Linked DNA regions of Homo sapiens: region 2 is linked to region 1. The links are contacts of gene promoters, found by promoter capture Hi-C in blood cells and fetal thymus (Javierre and others, 2016). All regions are on one chromosome and are shown on one strand. Each heading gives the region's core, a stretch centred on a gene start or on the middle of the fragment in contact. The rest is flanking DNA. Distances are from core to core; before and after follow the strand shown. Region 1 holds the start of SIRPB2 (signal regulatory protein beta 2). Region 2 has its middle 80 kb from the start of SIRPA.

The links. The method cuts DNA at HindIII sites, captures the fragments that hold promoters and counts their contacts. A CHiCAGO score of 5 or more calls a contact.
Region 2: a contact is called between a fragment that was not itself captured here and the fragment with the promoter of SIRPB2 in region 1, in 1 of 17 cell types (M1 macrophages). The highest score is 5.1, in M1 macrophages.

The regions. Positions count from the first base shown.
Region 1 is chr20:1,488,643-1,493,734 of GRCh38, reverse strand. SIRPB2 (signal regulatory protein beta 2) reads left to right here and starts at 2,315. Exons shown (of 5, transcript NM_001122962.2): 1 at 2,315-2,460. The coding sequence starts at 2,376. The HindIII fragment of the contact is 958 bases long and covers 1,592-2,549 here.
Region 2 is chr20:1,813,115-1,818,206 of GRCh38, reverse strand. No RefSeq gene overlaps it. Among named protein-coding and RNA genes, the nearest start is that of SIRPA, 80 kb to the left of the region's middle. RefSeq lists a silencer at 1,590-1,884. The HindIII fragment of the contact is 7,477 bases long and covers 1-5,092 here.

The DNA.
Region 1 (5,092 bases), core at 1,066-3,565:
AGGGGAACTCCTCCCCTTATGACTTGGTGAGGAAGTAAGAAAAAGAGGGAGAAGACAGGGGTTGAGATGCTAGAGTCCTGCCAACCCCACAGTCCTGAGGTCCAAATGCTGGGGTGGGGTGGGAATGGAGTTTAGGGATTCCTACAGCATAAGGGATCATGGCCTGTCTTCCCAGGGTGTTCATAGTCCACGACATCACAAAGAAACCATATTCAACCTGGCTTCTGAGCACTAGATCAGAAACAGTAAAGGAAATGAATGTCTTCAAAAACTGGTGACTGTGGTTAACCCTAAGGAAAGTAATGTCTGGGAGCCCTATAAATGAGACACTGAGACCTCTGAATTTTGTACCTGTAGATGCCCATGGCAGATAAATCACAAAAATATCCACAATTCTATACCCCCTCTTTGTATCCACACCTTTTGCAATTAGGCTTTGCAGTTCCCTAACAAGAGGCAAAGTCTATTTTCCATTCCTTGAATCTTGTCTGGTCTTGTAACTTGATGTGGCCAAAAGAATATGGCAGAAGTTTCCTTGTACCTTGCACTGTCTCTCAAAACTGCCCCTTTCATGAGAACAAGACTAAGTTAGTGTCCTGGAAGATGAGAGACCACATAGAGGACAGCTGAGGTACCTGGGTTAACAATCAGTCAACCGCAGTAACAAAGCCACCTAGCCAACCTGCAGCTGACCTCAAGTGCATGAACATTCCCAGCCAAAATCTGCTGAGATGAGAAGACCGAACCACCAAATGGAGCCCTGACTGAATTGTCAACCCACAAAATAGTAAATTAACTGAACATTTAGTTTTTAAGCTTCTAAATTTTGGGGTGCTTTGTTATGCAGCAATAGCTAACCAATACAATGCCTTGCCTATTAAAATAAAATTATTTGTAAGTAAAACTTTAGAAAAAAACAATAGCTGAGAAAGAAATCTGCATAGATGAGCAGGTGATTCAGAAATTCCCGTGTAAGAATGACATGGAAAGTACTGAGGGTCTGGTGGAATCATCTAGGCTTGTGGCCCTTTCAAAGAAGTTTCACTATATAGATCTCATTGACAGGAGAACAAGTAGAGGGAGTAATGGAATTGAGCAGGGGTATCAATGCAAGGCCTCAAAAGTCTAGAAAAGACCAGTCACAGACCCAGTGCAAAGTCCTTGGGGACCAGGCCAGACTAACCTCCTCATAGTAGACACCAGACCTCTGGGACCCAGGGGACATACTCAGATCCAAGGCCTGCCACCCTGTTGCTGGAGAATCTTCAGCTTCCTCTGCACCCAGAACCTTCTGAAGCATGAGGGAGGAAGTGAAATAATGAAAGGCTGAGTTGTTCTTGTACTTTTCCCTGAGTTAATTAAAAGACTGAGTTAACCTAAAAGACAATGGTGAAAGCCTATAGAGTGCTTACTCCACCCCACACATGCTACCACATTTTTATTCCTGTTTTACAGATGAGGAAACCGAGGCATAAAGTGGTCAAATGATTGTCCTAAGGTCACACAGCCAGACTGAGTAAAGCCAAGATTTGAACCCAGACAGTGTGGCTAAAGAGATTGCCTGGATTGCATGAATTGGCAAGATTAAGCTTTTCCTTCTTGATAGCCAGCACCAGGAGGCTCCTGAGGAAGTTCAGATCACTTACAGGAAACAAAGATGCCACAAACGCAAATGTTTGCACAATCTGAGTATGTTTCACTTGGACCCCAGGAAACAGAGGCTGAGAGAGTTACACATGATTATACTTTTAGGAATTAGGCCTGTACCCTCCCTGCAGTGCTAAAAGGAGGCCCCCATGGGGCTTGCTTTATAATAAATCCTTCTTCTTAAGCAATGTCACCTCCTCTACTTTCTGCACATCATGAATAATAATGGTTAATATGTTTAGCATTTACATTGTTCTGTGCCCTCACATTATTTCTCATAATCTTACCAAAACTGTTCTGAGGAGGGAACTGCCGTTGTTCCTACGCTGCAGATGAAGAAACAAAAGGCTCAGAAATGGGAAGTGACTTTGAAATCTTGCACAGCCAAGAAGAGGAAGATCCAATGTTTGCTCCAAATTCCACCCGATTCTGGAGTGCGTCCTATGACCTCAGTGCCCACCTCCCTCCCGGGCACCTAGGATGGAGCCTATGGCAAGGTTTTAGCACAGTGACTACAGGAATCACAGCCCAGACACAAAAGCAGGAAACCCTTTGACCGGGCTCCTTCCTATTGCACCAACAGCCTTGTGTTGCTGCAATGAAAACACTTCCCCAAGCAGCTGTGGCCAAGAGACGCAGAAACTGCCTTGTCCACGGGCCCCGCCTCAGACTCCAACACTCACAAGAGAGCAGAGGAGCCCCAAGTCTTGGGGACCACAGAAGATGCCATGTGCTCCACGATGTCGGCCCCCACCTGCCTGGCCCACTTGCCTCCCTGCTTCCTGCTGCTGGCACTGGTCCTTGTCCCCTCAGGTAAGTGGGGTCTAGGATAGAACAGGGTCCACCCCCGGCTGGTCAGTCCCTAGAGGGGCACTAAGTGCTCTGCCATGCCTGAAGAAGCTTGACCCCATGAAGATAGAGTAAAGAGGGGTCCACTGAAAATTTGCCTGACTCCGGCAGAGGGCACCCCCAGTGTCCCAAGAAGCAGCGTAGTGAAGTGATAAGCTCCCAGGCTCTGCGCTCACACCCACTGGCTTCCAGCTTGATTGCTCCTATGCCCACGTCAGATGCTGCAGCTCTTTTAGCCCCAGGAGCCTCTTCTACAAAACAGGGACGCTCATGGGACCTTTCTCTAGGGCTACTGTGAGTATTAAATAGAAAAGTGGTGAGGCTCAGCCCTGGGCCGGCTGCATAGTTTATGAGACCCACTGCAAAATGAAAACTGCGGTCTTTTGTTCAAAAAGTATTGAGCAACACAGCAGAGCAGTAAACCAAGCATGGGCTCCTTCTAAGCACAGGGCCCTGTGCGACTACATAGATGGCACAGCCATGAACCAGCCCTGGCTCAGCTTAAGACGCAGTAGGCTCAAACCTCACCACTAACCAGTTTAAGTAATTTCTTTCTGAGCCTCAGTTTTTCCAACTGTAAAATGGAGCTAAAAATAGGACCCACCTTGGGACTTTCTTAGGAGAATTTAACAAGATAATACCCATAAGTGCCTGGCATAACAAAGATTTGATAACTCTTGGCGATTATTATTATCATTCCCATGTTTCCTCTAACTCAGGGGCAGGCCAGGTTAGCTCCAGAGTCTTGAGACCCCTGAATATATAGCTCAGCCTCTGAGTCCAGAACTCTCTGATCTACCAGGCAGGGATACTTGGCTCTCAGTGGGCTCATTCCATCTCCTGCCCATCTGGGCCTCTGCTCCAGGCTCTACTGAGATCTAGATTCTGTCCATGACATCTTTGGTCCTCCGGGGTGGCCATCCCCAGGAGAGATCCTGGCAGAACCCAGGTGTGGGGTCGGACCTAGGTGCTCCCTTACTCATTGGCCGTATGACTCAAGACACCACTTCAATTCTCTAAGCTGATTTCCTCAATTCTAAGATGTGAATCATAATTGCTAGGTCTCATTCCACAGGTACTTTTGAGTGTCTGCTATGTTTTAGGCACTAGACTAGGAAATCAGAAATCTAAACTACTCAGAATAAAAAATATTCCCAATGATTGTTGCAATAGAATAGATGGAAAATAAGAGAAGTTGCTTAAACCAGTCAGTTGGAATGTTTGAGTCCAGCTGCATCTCAAGCTGAGTCAGGGCTGGTTCTTGGGTGTGCCCTCTATATAGTGGCACAGAGCCTCCTGCTTAGAAGGGCCCCATGCTTGGTTTAATGTTCTGCTGTGTTGCTCAATAGTTTTTGAACAAGGGACCTGCATTCCCGTTTTGCACTTGGCCTCACAAATTACGTAGCTGGCCCAGGATTGAGCCTCACCACTTCTCTATTTAATACTCACAGCAGCCCCGAGAAAAATATGAGTGCCCCTATTTTGCAGTAGAGGAGACTGGGGCTAACACATTTTCTATAAGGCTTTTAAAGGGAGCCCCATACAGGAACCATGAAAGGCAGAGGATGCAGATGGAAAATAGATGAGAAGGTCCAGCTCCACTGACAAGGCAGAGGCAAACCTCCTAGGACACCTCCTAAAGCCCAAGTGACAACACAGAAGGGGACTCAGAAGGGGAGAGGGAGGGAAGGGGTGTGGGCACCAGGACTGAGTCCAGGCTCCAGCTTCTTCCCTGGTGTTCACTTCCCCAGACTCACCCCTAGCTGAGATAAGACTTTCTGAGTGCTTCCTTCTTCCTCTCCTCCATTGCTTCTTTCTCCTCACACACGCAGGCTTCATCTTTACAAATAATTTATTTTTAACAGCTCTATTGAAGTGTAAGTGACATATATTAAACCGTACATATGTAAAGTACACAATTTGATAAGTTTTTTTTGTGAGTGCTGGGTGTATTTCACACTTGTGAAATCATCACCAAAATCAGCATCATGAACATATCCAGCGCCCAAAAGTTTCCTTGTGATTCGTCCTTGCCACTCCTCCTTGTCTCCAAAACAACCACGGATCTGTATTCTGTCACTATAGTTTGCATTTTCTAGAATTGTATATAATAAGGATCACACAGTTATACTCCTTTTTGGCTGGCTTCTTTTACTCCGCATAATTATTTTGAGATTCATTCATGTTGTTGCATATGTCAATAGTTCATTTCTTCTCATGTCTATCCATTGTATGGATAAACCCTTTCCCATTCACCTGTAGACAGACATTTGGGTTGTTTGCAGTTTAGGGCTATTATAAATAAAGCATCTATGAATATTCATGTACAAGTCTTTGTGTGGATATATACTTTCATTTCTCTTAGGGAAATATCTGAGAATAAAATGGATCATATGGTTGCCATACGTTTAACTTTTTCAGACACTGCCAAAGTGTTTTTCAAAGGAGTTGTACCATTTTACATTCTCATCAGCAATGTAGGAGGATGGCAGTTCCTACACCTCCTCACCAACACTTATTATGGTCAATCTTTTTAATTTTAGTCATTCTAATGGGTACATAGTAATATCTTACTGTGATTTTTTTTTTTTGAGAC
Region 2 (5,092 bases), core at 1,194-3,693, 320 kb before region 1:
AAGTCAGGAAGGAGGCAGGGGAGAGAGGCTGACATGGAGGGGTGGATGAGGAGACCTGATGGGCTCTGCAGCCTGCGTGCAGGTGCGAGTGTGTGGCTTGTGAGCACAATGGCCTCCAATGGAGGGAAGCCCCTTGTTCCCAGCCCGGCCCCTCTGCTGCCTTCCTCAGTGCCTGAGAGTGGGGTGAAGCATTGCCTGCCTTTGATGCACAGAGGGTGGGGCAGAGCAGACCAGTTAACAGAGTGTGGTTTAGAAGACAGGCAACCCCGAGTTCAAGCATCAGCTCTGCCAATCCCTGCCAACCCCCTTGGGGCCCTTACTCAGTCTTTTGGAGCCTTGGCTTTCTTGTCTGGAAAATGGGGCTAACAATGCCTATCTACATCATAGGATCGCCACGGTGCCTACAGGAGGCCTCACTGCAAAGGGCTTGGCACAGCACCTGAGTCAGCTGCTATTGTCCAACCTGGAGTGTAGGGTGGACTGTAGTCCTTCTGTGATCTCATAATCCACCAGCAGACCCCTCCTGTGTACCCCTCTGTGTACTCCTGCTGTGTACCTGGAGACCCCCAGGTCTCCAGGGGTCAAACCACACCCCACAGGCACCTTGGAAGAAGAAATCCACAGGAGGAAAAAAAGAAGTAGGAATCTTGGTAGCTGGGAGAGTTCTGAGAGGGCATCTCAGGCAGCTGTGATGGGTTCAAGAGGAAATGGAGGCTTGGGTGCACTTCCCTGGTCTCCACCTCCTTCAAAGAGAACCCAGGGAGGAGGAAAGTGTGACCTTGAGCCTGTCCAGGGCTTCTGCCTGCCTGGCTGACCCAGAGCGGGTTGGATTCCATGCTCTGTGAAGGCCTTTGAGGTCCTAACAGTCAGGGGTTCTCGAAGTCCATGATTGTAAGCAGCCCGACTGGGGCTGGGGGGCGATGGGGAAGGGTGTCCCCTGCTCCCCCACCTCCTTCTGCCAAGGCTGCAGAGGGAACAGAGGCCGTTGCCTTCTGAAGGATTTGTCACAAAGCGCGGTGGTCGGTTACCGGTTACCACATAAGCCAAGGCCTTGATCTGCTGTGTTTGAGGAAACCCTTTGTTCCTTTCAAGTCTCTATTCTCTGAGCCAGGGCTAGTGCGGAGACCGAAGCAGTGAGCTTTCTCTTTCTTCCTTTTCTTTTTGGATTTTTAAAAATAACTGGCTTGCGCATTCAGGCGGTGTTCCAGAATTGGGTTCCCAGGCTGTGGTTCAGGGCCAGGGACTCCAGCAGCCCCTTCATCCCAGGAAGGCCTCGGGGGAGGGAGAGCCTAAGGGCTGATGGGGAGGGGAGGGCACACACAGGTGCTTGTGAGAGGCTTGGGCTCAGGAACCAACACTGAGGGGAGACTGAAGATGGGGTTCTAACTCTGGCTATGCACCCCATGCATGCCCAGTGCATCTTCTTCTGGACCTCAGTTTTTTTCAGTGCAGGGTTGGAGGCCAGAGCAGAGATGGCCACTTTTTCCCATGGCTGAGTCTATGCCAGACATTGCTCATCAATTGCCCTTCCCCACGGAGCTTGGATAAGCCCCAAGAAGTCTTTTCAACACCGTGCTCTGGGTATCTACTGCCAATTGCATTTGGCATGCAAAGTGAGACCTGCTTCCTGTCCTGAGAGAAGATCATCTCTGAGGCACCAATATGAAGTGGGGATGCAATAAATATTTTTTGGATGAATGGGCACTGCTTTTTTTAGCCCTTACTTCATGCCAGGCATTGTTCTGAGTACTGTTTAGAACATGCCAGGCATTGTTCTAAACGTTGAACAAAACAAAGTTCCTGACCTCAATCTCACATGTGAGGGAGACAGGCAATAAGCAAATGAACAGAGAAACAGATCAAATGTCAGGTGGTGATCAGAGCCATAAAGAAAAATTAAAACAATAGAGAGTGACAGGCTGTGGGTCGGTAGGGGGGAACGTTGTGGATAAGGTACCCAGAGAAGATCTTCTGGGAAAGAGATATGGAGTAGACAAAGTGACAGTCTCCTCAGAGCCCATCACTCTAGGACTTTGAGTCTAAATTTGTCTGACTTTAAGATTCTAATTTCATTGAGTAAGATTCTAGAATCTCGTGAATCTAGGAACCTATAACCAAAATTATAGATTTTCACTGCTCTCATATTCCATGACAATGATGCTAGAATTCTGTGACTCTGAAATTCTAGGCTTCACTGATGCATCTTTTTGCTTGAACAGACCAGGATTCATTGCCTACCCTCTCCCCACTACCCCTAGGAAATGGAGCTGAAAATAGAAACAGTCAAAACAACAAGCCATTCCAGCTCTAAGTGCCATAGTAAACAAATGGTCCAATGTTGCTCTGATAGTTTAATTGCGGCAGTTCCAGACAAGCCCATTCATGAAGGATCTTTAGTTGATGGAGAGGAGGAGTGAGCACCCAGGGAAGGGATGGCTTGTAGGGCAGGCACTTGGGGGAGGTCTGCGTCACGACCCCAGCTGAGGATGATGCTCTGGGAAGCCTGTTGGGTTTCAGCAGCCAAAGCATTGGTATTTGGATCAGGCCCCTTGGCCTTTAAGGACCACAATGGTGGCTATTTTAACTGGCAAAGTAAAGAAGTGTCTCTTTGAGGATGTGGCATTAGAGCTAGACTGGAAGACTTAAGAAGATACTAGCTTGACAGAAATCCAGGGAAGTGAGTCCCAGGCAAAGGGGAAGAGCAGATTCAAAGGTCCTGAGGTGAGAGAGAGCTTGGCAGGTTCCCCAAGTATTCAGAGCATAGGACAGAGAGGAGATGATATCAGAGGGATAAGCAGGGGCTGTTTCCTATAGGGGTTTGGAGGTCAGGGTTAGGAATATGGAAGCCACTGGAAGGTTTTTAACAGGGGAGTGACATGATATAAATCCATATTCAAAAGATTACTAAGTGCTTTGAGTAGAAGAGACTACTGGGGGCAAGAGTAGAAACTGAAAGACCAGTGAGAGACCCCAGTGTTTCAGTGAGAAATGATGGTTGTTTGGATTTAGATGGTGGCAGTGGGTCCATCTGTTTGTCTACCGCTTTGTTCTTCCCTCCTTTCTTCCATTCTTCTATCTCTTCATCCATCCATTCATCCATCCACCCATCCATCCACCCACCCATCCATCCACCCACCCATCCATCCACCCACCAACCCATCCACCCATTCATCCACCCACCCATCCATCCATGCATGCATCCATCCATCCATCCATCCATCCATCCATCCATCCATCCACCCTCCCATCCACCCACCCACCCATCCATCCATCCATCCATCCACCCACCCACCCATCCATCCATCCATTAACTAAACACTCAGAGCCAGGGGCTGTGCTGGGTGTGTCTATGGGGAGTCAGGTACAATGCTGAGATAACAAGAATGAAATACACATGGTTCCCAGCCTAAGGGGCTTACAAAACAGCAGGGTACACAAAATTGCAATGTAATGTTATGAATGCTCCAGTTAAGGAATGCATGAAGCACCGAGAGAGCTCATGGGAGGTAATTCCCTATGCTCTGTCCTGGAGGAGATACTGATGTTTGAGTTGGGCCTTTCGAAGGACACGGGAGTTGGACAGGCAGCAGAAGAGTGTTCCTGGCAGGGGCACACAGCTTGAGTAAAAAGCAAGGAGGCAGCATGAGTGAGCATGGCCGGTTCTGGAAATGTACAGATGTCTAGGTTGGTTGAATCAACAGATGCGAGTGGGGACGCTGTGGGAGAGGAGTTTGGGTCAACTTGGGAAGACGTGGAGCAGCATATGCCCATGACTGGGCCTGCCCCTTCCGCTCAGCTCTGCCTGCCCCTATCAGAGCTGAATAATTGAATTAAGTACCAGCTCTTAAACAAGATGCAGCTGTTTAGCAGATGTTGCTTCCACCCCAGATGGAGGTGCATCTTGGCGACGGGCACAACATTTCGAAGGCGTCTAATTTGTGAGGCTGTGGAGAGGAAAGAACTTCAAGATGCTGGCATTATTATTTAATAACCATCATTAATTACACACTCCCTCCCTCCAGCACCACTGCATGTCAAACATTCCTGCCGGATTGGGACTGGGGGCACAGAGGCGGGCTGGCAGGTGGGCTTGGGGGTTGGACTTGCTGGTTCTGATTCAGAAAAACAAAAGAAGAAAAGGGAATAAAGTCATCAATCCACAAAGCCTTCAAGAACTTTTATAATAATGGAAAATGACTTCTCTTGCATTTTTCATAAAATGAGTACAAATAATAACTGCTATTGATTGAACCCCCACTCAGAGCCAGGGGCTGTGCTGGGTGTGTCTTAGACATTGCCTCCAATTCCCTAATCCTCCCAACAGCCACGCATGGCCCTACCTCAGGGCCTTTGCCCTTGATGTCTCCTCCGACTGGGAAGGTTCTTCCTTCAGACACCCACATGGCTAACTCCCCTACATCTTTCAAAGCTCCACTTAAATGTCAGCTCCCCAGAGAGGCCTTCCCTGACCACCACTCCCTGAAATAATGTCCTCCACATTCTTGACCTCCTTCCCTTGCTTTTTCTTTCATCACCTGATATACGTATATTTGTTAATTGTCTATTTCTCCCTTTTAGATTTTAAGCTCCCAAGGGCAAGGATTTTTGTTTCATTCACTGTGGCCTCCCCAGCACTCAAAACAATGCTTGACACAGGACAGAGTTCTTTTTTCTTTTTTGAGATGGAGTCTGGCTCACTTGCCCAGGCTGAAGTGCAGTGGCACGATCTTGGCTCACTATAACCTCTGTCTCCTGGGTTCAAGCGATTCTCCTGTCACAGCCTCTGGAATAGCTGGGATTACAAGTGCACGCCACCATGTCCAGCTATTTTTTTTTCTTTTTTGGGGGGGTATTTTTAGTAGAGATGTGATTTCATCATATTGGCCGGGCTGGTATCCAACTCCTGACCTCAGTGACCCGCCTGCATCGGCCTCCTGAAGTGCTGGGATTACAGGCATGAGCCACCGTGCCTGGCCCAGAGTTCTATAAATATTTGTTCAATGGGTGGGTGATTCATCAGTGGGTCTCATTAAAAAATGTGCAGAAGAGTGTTAGGGAGATAAAATCTCTTTCCCAGGCATTACACAGCCAG